Linked DNA regions of Homo sapiens: region 2 is linked to region 1. The links are contacts of gene promoters, found by promoter capture Hi-C in blood cells and fetal thymus (Javierre and others, 2016). All regions are on one chromosome and are shown on one strand. Each heading gives the region's core, a stretch centred on a gene start or on the middle of the fragment in contact. The rest is flanking DNA. Distances are from core to core; before and after follow the strand shown.

Region 1 (5,546 bases), core at 1-2,500:
GGTACTCATCATGTCACATGCAAAAAACATCTTCAAGGTCACATACACTTGAGAAAGGCAGGGTAAAAGAGTTAAGTAAGATTCTTTTTTTTTCTTTTGAGACAGAGTCTCATTCTTCTGTCGCCCAGGCTGAAGTGCAGTGGTGTGATCTCAGTTCACTGCATCCTCTGCCTCCAGGGTTCAAGTGATTCTCCTGCCTCAGCCTCCTGAGTAGCTGGGACTATAGGCATGTGCCACCACACCCGTCTGATTTGTTTGTTTGTTTGTTTGTTTTAGTAGAGATGGGGTTTCACCATGTTGGCCAGGCTGGTTTCAAACTCCTGACCTCAGGTGATCCCCCCAACTTGGCCTCCCAAAGTGCTGAGATGACAGGCGTGAGCCACCGCACCTGGCTTAAGTAAGATTCTTTACTGCAGGACTTTAAAAACCTTTCAGTAAACTCTATCTACACCATTAATCTCTAGACATGGGGATTAGAGTATAGTATAATACATTGTCCATACTTCTTTGGCCATGGGATCTATTTTACATGTTCCATAAAAAACTTAGCAGGGTTGCAGAGCCAGAGTTCTTTGAAATCCCCTTAAGGTTACCTAAGGGGTAACAAGGGCTGTGGCAAGGACTAGACTCCGTTCCCTGCAGCCAACACTTGCCTCCAGGAGCCGGGCCATTGTCCCTCCTCTGCCAGCACCCTCCAGCCACAACCTGCTCTGGGACGGGCTGGAGCATCCCAGCATGAGTGGGAGATGGGCGCCTCCAGAGCAGGACTGTGTGCTGCCTCAAGGAGCTCCAGGAGTCTCTGGAGCACAGGAGTAGGGCCCCAGGCCCGGGAATTGGAAGGCTGAGGGTGGGGTGGAGGTTAGGGACAGCAGTTATTATGCACAGAGGCTCAGGACAGGGCCATGCTGTCCAGACCTCCTCAGTCCAGGCCTGTTGAGGGCCTTGCAGAACCTTGGGGCTGACCTCCCTGGCTCCTTCTTCCCTCCTGGGCATCCAATAACCTACCCTACTCTCAGAAGACTCAGCAGGCCTGGCAAGGAGGATGCTCAAGACAGGGGTCTGTCTACAACCTGTTGTAACACCGGTAAGAGAGAGCCAGGGAGGTCCCCACTGTGTTCCCAGCTCTGGGAGGTATGCCTGGCCCATAACTGCTGTTCCGTAATAACTTGCTTGTTGAATGCAAAATAAAAGCAAAATGATTTTTACCTGTTTCCGCGTGTCTTCCCTCTTCAGGGACCCTGGCAGCATCTGAGAGCAAAAGGAGAAGTACAGTAAAGTCTCTGGTGACAGAGGTTTCCCCTCCATGGCCACACCCCCTGCTTCTCTATGGCTCTGAGGGGGACCAAGCAGCACCGTGATCTGGGGAGTGGGGAAAAGAGACGATTGAGGGGGATGCGGGCTCGGAGTCAGATTGGAAGACTCGAATACGTATGGGCAGTTCTTCCTTTCCGTGTATGGGTTTGCAATATCAGATCAGTTTCAGAATGGGCTCCTCCACAACTCCCCCTCTACCCAGCTCTCAGGAAATGCGAATGACTCAAGCCAAGCAGGAGAACTGCAGCCCGCTGAAAAAGGCACAGGCCTACCTGAAAGTATTTGTAGTTTAGTGACACCATCCAGTTATTACCATTTCCACTCTTTTCATCATAGGCATAAATGGTGGGGAATCTGACCACCTACACTGAAGCCCCCAAGGGTTGAGGGAGGAGCACATAGATATTGAGGAGGAAAAAGATATCTCGGCCGGGTGCGGTGGCTCATGCCTGGAATCCCAACACTTTGGGAGGCTGAGGCGGGTGGATCACTTGAGGTCAGGAATTCGAGACCAGCCTGGCGAACATGGTGAAATTCCGTCTCTACTAAAAATACAAAAAATTAGCTAAGTGTTTTGGCAGGCGCCTGTAGTCCCAGCTACTCAGGGGGCTGAGGCAGGAGAATCACTTGAGCCCAGGAGGCGGAGGCTGCAGTGAGAAGAGATCACACCACTGCAGTCCAGCCTGGGTGACAGAGTGAGACTCTGTCTCAAAAAAAAAAAAAGAAAGAAAGAAAGAAAGAAAGAAAAAGAAAAGATATCTTGTAGGACTGGGCATGGTGGCTCATGCCTGTAATCCTAGCGCTTTGGGTGGCCAAGGCGGGTGGATTGCCTGAGCTCAGGAGTTCAAGACCAGCTTGGGCAACATGGTAAAACCCCATCTCTACTAAAAAAAAAAAAAAAAAAAATCCAAAAATTAGCTGGGTGTGGTGGCGGGCGCCTGTGGTCCCAGCTACTCAGGAGGCTAAGGCAGGAGAATCACTTAAGCCCGAGAGGCTGAGGTTGCAGTGAGCAGATCGCGCTGTGGCACTCCAGCCTGGGTGACAGAGCCAGATCCTGTCTCAAAAAAACAAAAAAGATATCTTGTAGGAAGTGTTATTGAATGGAGAGTCTTTAGGCTGAAACCTCATCACCTTTATAATCCTGTAGCCAGCGAGTGTCTCAGGAGCAGAACAGACAGCATTGGAAGCCATGCACATCCTACAGATGAAGAGGGATGCGCTGAGAGGTCTTCACTCCAGCACCACTGCCCTCTATGGGCAGCTGGCCATAGGGAGGGAAACAGAGAGAGGGAAGAACACCTTCTTCCAAAAGCACCGATAGGGCTGGGTGTGGTGACTTATGCCTGTAATACGCTTTGGGAGAGCAAGGCAAGAGGATTGCTTAAGGCCAGAAGTTTGAGACCAACCTGAACAACACAGCAAAACTCTGTGGGGCTAGTCAACAAAAGCAAAAAATGAAAAGTAGCTGGGCATGGTGGCCCATGCCTGTGGTCCAAACTACTTGGGAGGCTGAGGCAGGAGGATCGCTTGAGCCTGGGAGTTCAAGGCTTCAGTCAGCCATGATAGCACCACTGCACTCCAGCCCAGGCAACAAAGTAAGACCTTGTCTCAGTAAATAATAAATAAATAAAATGAACAAAAAGCAGTGATGTTCTGGAAAGATGGAGTAGATGTATTTATTTATTCTGCCAAGTATAACTGAAAACCTTGAACGTGACAAGACAAGCATAAGAAGACTGAAAGATGGAGAGAAGCAGACTGGTTAGGAACCTCGGGACTTAAGGAATGGTGGTGAATTCCCTGGGATTTCTCTTTGCCTCATATATCTCAGGCTGAATACTGGAGAAGCCAACAACTGAAAATGCCAAGGGGCACAAACAAGAAAAAGTCCCAACAGAACAAGTTCTAGCAAAACTATGCTTTTCTAGCCAAAGAACGAGGAAAGGGGCATCCTAGAAAGACAGAGCTCTTTTAGTCCATACCTGCTCCGCTCCATCCAAGTTCCATCATCACCCTTGTCAGCAAAGGCCGGATGGAAAACCTAGACATTCACCTTCACCAGGCTGTAACAAAGAACCCTAGGCCACTCCCATACTCAGCCAGAGTGATGCTAGAGTTGGAGCTGGGACATTCCTCCCCACTGGGATCACCCTCCCCCGATGTGGTGTTGGTGGAAACCATGTGGGCAGCCTGGACATCCACTGCCACCCCAATGCAGAAATGAGGCATTCCACCCGGCCCCATTGGAGTAGTGTCAAAGGGGGCCTGGTGGAGAGTTGGGACTTTCGCCACCACTCAGTGGTAACAAGCACCCCCCTCTCTCTGCCACACACAGTGTCAGTGAAAGCCACATAGGGAGCAGTAATGAAGCATCCCTCCCACTCCCAGCCAGGGAGTTGTCATGGATTCCTAGTGGGGAACCTGAACTTCTACCCTTACCAAACAATAACATGGAGGCCTCATCTCTCCCAACCCCCCAGGTTCAGGAAAGGCTGGATGGAGAACCTGGACTTTTATCCCTGTCTGGAAGCAATCAGGCAGTGCCCTACTTTATTTCGCTGGAGCAGTATAAAGGGAAGCCCACTAAAACAAAATATTTAAAGAAGATCCAGAATCTTATAACACAGTGCCCAGAATATCCTGACTTCAATGGCAAATCACTTGTCATACTAGGAATCAGGCATTCTCAAACTGAATAACAAAAGATAATTAACAGACACAAACATCAAGACGACACAGATGTTAGAATTATCTGACAAAGATTTTGGAGCAGCCATCATAAAAGTGTTTCACTGAGAAATTATAAATGTGCTTGAAACAAATAAAATAATAAAAAGTATCAGCAAAGAAATAGAAAATATAAAGAAGAACCAAATGGAAACTTTAGAACTAAAAAATACAACTAAAAAATACAAGAGCTGAAATAAAAACCATAATGGATGGGCTCAATAGCAGAATGGAGAGTATAGAAGAAAGAAGCAGTGAAACAAAACGTATAACAATAGAAATTACCCATTCTGAACAATGGAAAGAAAATAGATGAAAGAAAATGGAACAAAGCCTCAAGGACATGAGTAACTATAATAAAAGAAGATCTAACATTTTGTCATTGAAGTCCCAGAAGGGGAGGAAAAGGAGGGTGGGCCTTAAAAAAATATTCCAAGAAGTAATGGCTGCAAATTATCTTCATTTGACAACACACACGCACAACATATGTCTACAGATTCAAGAAGCTGAGCGCATCACAAACAGGATAAACCCAAAGAAATTCATGCCAAGACACATCATAGTCAAACTTCTAAAAACAAGAGGCAGAGAAAATTCTCGAAAGCAACCACATAAAAATGCAAAAAATTAGCCAGTTGGGTGGTGCGTGCCTGTAGTCCCAGCTACTCAGGAGGCCAAGGCAGGAGGATCACTTGAACCTGGGAGGCGGAGGTTGCAGTGAGCTGAGATCCTGCCACTGCACTCCAGCCTGGGCAACAGAGCGAAACTCTGTCTTAATTAAAAAGTAAAATAAAATAAAAACAAAAAACCTCTGGAAGATAACATAGGAGAAAATCTGTGAGACTTAGAGCTTGATGAAGTGTTCTTAGACATGACACCAAAGGCATGATCCCTAAAAAAATCAATCCAACTTCATCAAAATTAATTTTTTTTTGCTCTGTAAAAGACCTAGTTAAGAGAATGAAAAGACAAATTACAGACTAAGAGAAAATATTTGCAAACCACATATCTGACAAAGGACTCCTATCTAGAACAAATATATAAAGAACTCTCAAATTCAACATAGAAACACTACATAAAAAAATCAAATCATCCAATTAGAAGACTGGCAAAAGATATAAAGAGAAATTTCACCCAAGGGGATATATGGATAGAAAATAATTATCTAAAAAGATATTCAACATCACTAGCCTTTAGACAGGTTAAGACCATGATGAGATATCACTACTAACATCTATAAGAACAGCTAAAATAAAAGATAGTATCAAATACTGGAAAGATGTATGGAAACTAAATCATTTATATATTGCTAGTGTGAATATAAAATTGTCCAGCCACTCTGGAAAAAAGTCTCAAAACAGTTCCTCCAAAGATTAAGCATAGAATTACCATACACTCCTGCATCTCCACTCTTACATATATAACCAAGAGAAATAAGAACATGTTCACCCAGAAACTTGAACACAAATGTTTACAGCAGCATTATTCATGAAAGCCAAAAAGCA
Region 2 (5,487 bases), core at 670-3,169, 120 kb after region 1:
AGGCTGAGGGTACTTTTTCTGAACACATGGTCAGAGCTAATAAACAGGCTAATAAAATTAAGGCTCTGCTTACAAAGAAGTAAAGGAAAATGGGCTTGCTTATTAATAATGCAGATTCCCAATTCCTGCTGCTAGTTGCACGGCTGCTTCTGTAGACACTCTGCCTCCGTCTGGCCTGGCACTTTGATCTTGTTTTTATGCCTCAGGATGAACGAACCTCAAACACCCAGGCTTCTTAGAATAGAAGGTCCTAGAGGAGGAGTGGTTTCTGAGAGAAGGAAGCACCTGCCCGCATCTCTTAAAAGGAAAGTACCTAAGCTTGACTGCCTGCTTATCTTTGAGGTTTTATTATCAATCAGGCCTTCTGGCACAAGTGATTAAAACCCAAACTAGCTTAAGTACAAAGAGAATGTATTGGTTCTTAGAATGGAAAGTCTCGGATTTCAGGTATGGCTGGATCCAGGTGCCCCTGCAATACACTCAGGATTATGCCTCTCTCCCTCTCACCTCTGCTGTCCTCAATATTGACTTCATTTTCATGCAGCAAAGATGACCTCCAGCAGTTCCAGGCTTAGAGCATAGCAGATAAGTAACCATAGCAGAAAAAGAAACACCACTTTCCCAATAGTTCCAGCAAAAGTCCTGCAGCTGTCTCTCATTGGCTTTACTTGGAATGGCGTGTTCATTTCTGGATCTGGGAAATGTAGTTGGCTGTGTCCGAATCACATAGACTAAGAGCAGGGGAGGCTGGTTCCCAAAGAAAATGAGAAGGGTAAACGAATGCCCGTCAGGCTAATCTCTCTCTTGTGTGTAGAGAGAGCCCCGGAGAGCATCAACCTGTCCTGTTTTACCATGAAGAGCATTCAAAAGCTAACAGGGTGATAGGGGTTTAGTAAGTTGGGAGTGGTCAGGGAGAGGTCTTGGAAGAGACAGTGTTGAAAGCAAAGCCTTGAGAGATAAGAAGTCAGTGTTTTAGGCGGCAGGACCTGTGAGGGCAAAACACCTGAGAAAAATCAATATTTGACAAATGAGTGGCTAAATGAATGAATGAATGAGTGAATGATTAAATGAATGAGTGGGTGAATGACTATAGACAGACACTGTAGACAAAGAGCCCCATCTTCTTGCTCAGAAGGACCCACCAGCCCCTGTAGTAATGGGAGAGCTGGAGTTGGGCTGCAGACCTTGCAGGGAAAATGGAGAGGGAGAGAAGGAGGAGGGGAGAGGAGGGAAGGAGGGAAAGAGCCACTCGGACTCCGCAGGAGCCAGGAGGAAGGGCCAGATGGACCCTACCTGGGAGACTACATCCAACGTTTCTCTCCTTGAGGGTCCTGGGCTGCCTGGAAACCCTCCCCTCTCCACAGCCTCCATTCCCTGCCCCTTCCCTCCCCCGCCTTACTCTCACTTCCTCTTTTCTGTTCCTCTTGCATACCAAGCTAGCTCTCGTCTCAGGCCTTTGTGCTTGCTGTTCCCTCTGCCTGGAACACCCTTCTCTAAGAACTTCACAGCCCTCAGGTCTCAGCCAAGAGTCCCCTCCACCAAGCAGCCCTCCCTGACCACCCCAACTGAATTACCCATCCCTCTACGCCCACAGCCTCTTCCAAATCACACCACCCTGCATACCTTCCTCTCTCTGAAAATGTCATGTTTGTGAATCTGTTGTGGTCACAGTTGTCACCCTGTCAGAGGCGTTTGAACCAGAGCAACCCCATCTTGAGTAGGGGCCAGGTAAAATGAGGCTGAGACTTACTGGGCTGCATCCCCAGATGGTTAAGGCATTCTGAGTCACAGGGTGAGATAGGAGGTCAACACAAGATGCAGGTCATAAAGACCTTGCTGATAAAACAGGATGCAATAAAGAAGCCAGATAATACCCATCAAAACCAAGATGGCCACGAGAGTGACCTCTGGTCGTCCTCACTGCTACACTCCCACCAGCGCCATGACAGTTTACAAATACCATGGCGATGTCGGGAAGTTACCCTCTATGGTCTAAAAAGGGGAGAAATGAATAATCCACCCCTTGTGTAGCATATCATCAAGAAATAACCATAAAAATGGGCAACCAGCAGTCCTCGGGGCTGCTCTGTCTATGGAGTAGCCATTCTTTATTCCTTTATTTTCCTAATAAACTTGCTTTCACTTTATGGACCTGCCCTGAATTCTCTCTTGTGGGAATCCAAGAACCCTCTCTTGGGGTCTGGATCGGGACTCCTTTCCTGTAACACTATTATTACTGACTTATGAATATTCTAGGGTTGTTGCGAAGTCTGGGTGCGAGTCAGGCACAGTGTTTACCTGCTTGGCCCTGCAGTGTCCAGCCAGGTTCGTGGCCTCCTGCCTCTGTGACCCTGTTCAAGTGACCTCCCTGCTCTGGGACTGTCTGTTCCCCCATAATATGGAGACCTCTATATTGCTCTTCTATACCTCATGTCTGTCTTTTACACACACACACACACACACACGTGTGTGTGCATGGCTGTGGTGCAGGTTTAATGACCTCATGCAGATGTCTAGAGCATGGTTCTAGGCAGAAAATGGAAAAGTATTTATAATATAATTAGTTCAACCAGCTACAATATAGACAGGGGTTTCCTGGCAGGCCATGTGACTTCAGTAATGGCCTGGGTCTGGCTTCGCCTTTAACCCTCTTCCTAGCCTCCCCTCAGCTCTCAAGGGTCAGCTAGGGGCCATCGCCCTGCATGTAGGGAGGCTGGACGGCAGAAAGCATGAACCCCATGATGCTCCCTGTCCTGCCCTGCCCATGCTGTCACCAAGTGGGGCAGCTAGACTGAAAGGGCTTCCACAACTCTGGGGTGGGCACCAACAGCCAGGGGAGCTGGAGATTGAAGGGTAACATTGCAGACTGGAATAGGAAGTTCCCTGGCCTCCAAGCCAGGCCTCACTAGGACTCTCCTGCCCTCAAATCTGGAAGCTCAGTGTCTTCACCCTTTAGGTCTCTGGGGGATAGGAGACAGAGACTTAGGAGGGTCCAGGGGAAAAGAATTTCCAAGTAATAACATGGAAAATAAAACAAAGCTACTAAACCAAAGGATATTGCTATCAACCACAGTAGCTTTCACACTTTTGTTGTTAACTGTAAGAGAGTCATTTGACATCACAACCTAGAATATATACTTTGAACCAAAAATAAAATCCTGAGCCCCCCAACTAACTAAGTGGACCCCCTTCTGGGCCAAAGGGACCCCAGAGACATCTGAACAACTGAATTCTAGCCATGAAGAAATGGGAGGTGCACATGCCTCATTCTAGCCCCTCCCTTCTGGAGTTTAGGCCCAACTGACCAACATTAACATTAAAATACAGATCACAGGACTGACAGAGTAGACTCTTTATGGCAATCAGATCCCAAATTCCAAGCTGACCCTGGTCACATGTTCTCTGAGCGCTGCCACTTAGGAGACTTCATCTGCATAACAAGGGCCTTGTCTTCTACAACCCCTTATGTTAGCTCAAGCATTCTTTTCTAAGGACTTCTTCAGTCTTTAGGCAAAGCTTAACTCTTCCAACCAAATGGCAATCAGAAAGTCTTTGAATCCGCCTGTAAGCCCTGTTCCCCACCCTCTGACTCAAGATATCCCACCTCTTTAGGCTGAACCAATGTACACCTTCCGTGTATTGATTTATGTCTTTGCCTGTAACTCCTGTCTCCCTAAAATGTATAAAACCAAACTGTAACCTGACCCCCTCAGGCACATGTTCTCAGGATCTCTTGAGACTGTACCCCAGGCCATGGCCACTCTTATAGGCTCAGAATAAACCTCTTTAAATATTTCACAAAGTTTGGCTTTTCTGTCAACAATACACACTCACAATAAGAGTTTACCAAAGTAACACTTACTTAAGGCTGGAGACAAACTCTGATACTCTGAAATTTCTTTTTTCTTCTACTTAATTCCATTTCAGAAAAAAATTGCTGGTTAGGACCTTCTAAATTGATCTCATGAACCACTAACGAGTCACTACTCACAGCATGCAAAGCTCTAATTACACACTAGAAAGTATGTTTTAACACCAGGGGAAAATGGGAAAGTTTTACTCATAGAATATTCCTTTGCATTACACTGAATGTATTTTACTTGATAGAAAATGCTGTACTTTTGCTTAAAGCTAATTTCTACAGCAGACAGATGGAGAGTATACCATGGATAGGCACAGGCAGAGGAGGCTCTGCTTTCTGGGCCTAACTTCATTCATTCATTCCACAAATCTGTACCAGGTGTTGGAGGGTCAGCAGCAGTGGCGTGCTGTATTAATCTGTTCTCACACTGCTAATAAAGACATACCTGAAGGCTGGGTGCAGTGGCTCACGCCTGTAATCCTCGGGGAGGCCGAGGCGGGAAGATCATGAGATCAGGAGACCGAGACCATCCTGGCTAACATTGTGAAACCCTGTCTCTACTAAAAATACAAAAAATTAGACGGGCATGGTGGCGGATGCCTGTAGTCCCAGCTACTCGGGAGGCTGAGGAAGGAGAATGGCATGAACCTGGGAGGCGGAGCTTGCAGTGAGCTGAGATTGCGCCACTGCATTCCAGCCTGGGCAACAGAGCGAGACTCTCTCTCAAAAAAAAAAAAAAAAAAAAAAAGACGTACCGGAGACTGGGTAATTTATAAAGAAAAGAGGTTTAATTGACTCACAGTTCAGCATGGCTAGGGAGACCTCAGGAAACTTACAATCATGGTGGAAGGGAAAGCAAACATGTTCTTCTTCACCTGGTGCAAGAGAGAGAAGTGCTGAGCCAAAGGGGGAAAAGCCCCTTATAAAACCATCAAATCTCATGAGAACACACTCGCTATCATGAGAACAGCATGAGGGTAACCTCCTCCATGATTCAGTTACCTCCCACTGCGTTCCTCCCCCTGACACATGGGGATTATGGGAACTACAATTCAAGATGAGATTTAGGTGGGGACACAGCCAAACCATATTATGTGCTGAAGCCAGTTTATCCCAACTCACAAGAGCCCTTTGTTAAGTTTTTCAGGAGTTATGGTTGAACTCACATTGGTAGCTTGAAATCAGTCGTGGTGGAAGATTTATACTACGGAATCAGCAACTCTATAAGTCAGCATCCCCCAGCCCCTACAAGGGTTGTCAAACCTTTATGAGCACACTGCTAGTCAGCAGTGACCAAGACCTGGTCCCTGCCCTGGCACAGGCTGTCCTAAAAGGACGGGGGCACACTTTACTCAACCACAAAAACACATATAAACACGTGCCTTATGTGTGCTATGTTCTATACACCTGCTATGAAGGAGAAGTATAGGAATTCATGAGAGAAGATAACAGAAGGAATTCGAACAAGGCTTCTCCAAGGACACGAAGTTTGAGCAGAGACTTAAAGGATGAGGGGATTTAACTAGACAAAGAATGCGGGGAACAGTATTTCAATGAGAAGGAATAGTGTGTACAAAAGACCAGTGCTGAGAGAGGATGGTGAGTCTGCACAGCATAGCTGGAGT

The links. The method cuts DNA at HindIII sites, captures the fragments that hold promoters and counts their contacts. A CHiCAGO score of 5 or more calls a contact.
Region 2: a contact is called between a fragment that was not itself captured here and the fragment with the promoter of CD22 in region 1, in 2 of 17 cell types (monocytes and naive B cells). The highest score is 5.9, in monocytes.

The regions. Positions count from the first base shown.
Region 1 is chr19:35,324,891-35,330,436 of GRCh38, reverse strand. It overlaps CD22 (CD22 molecule), which reads right to left and starts at 1,250. Exons shown (of 14, transcript NM_001771.4): 1 at 1,207-1,250. RefSeq lists enhancers at 504-553, 624-673. The HindIII fragment of the contact is 19,927 bases long and covers 1-5,546 here.
Region 2 is chr19:35,201,413-35,206,899 of GRCh38, reverse strand. LOC105372379 (a long non-coding RNA gene) reads right to left here and starts at 1,779. Exons shown (of 3, transcript XR_935938.2): 1 at 1,624-1,779; 2 at 508-747. RefSeq lists enhancers at 1,120-1,289, 2,265-2,782, 2,783-3,300, 3,301-3,818. The HindIII fragment of the contact is 3,198 bases long and covers 321-3,518 here.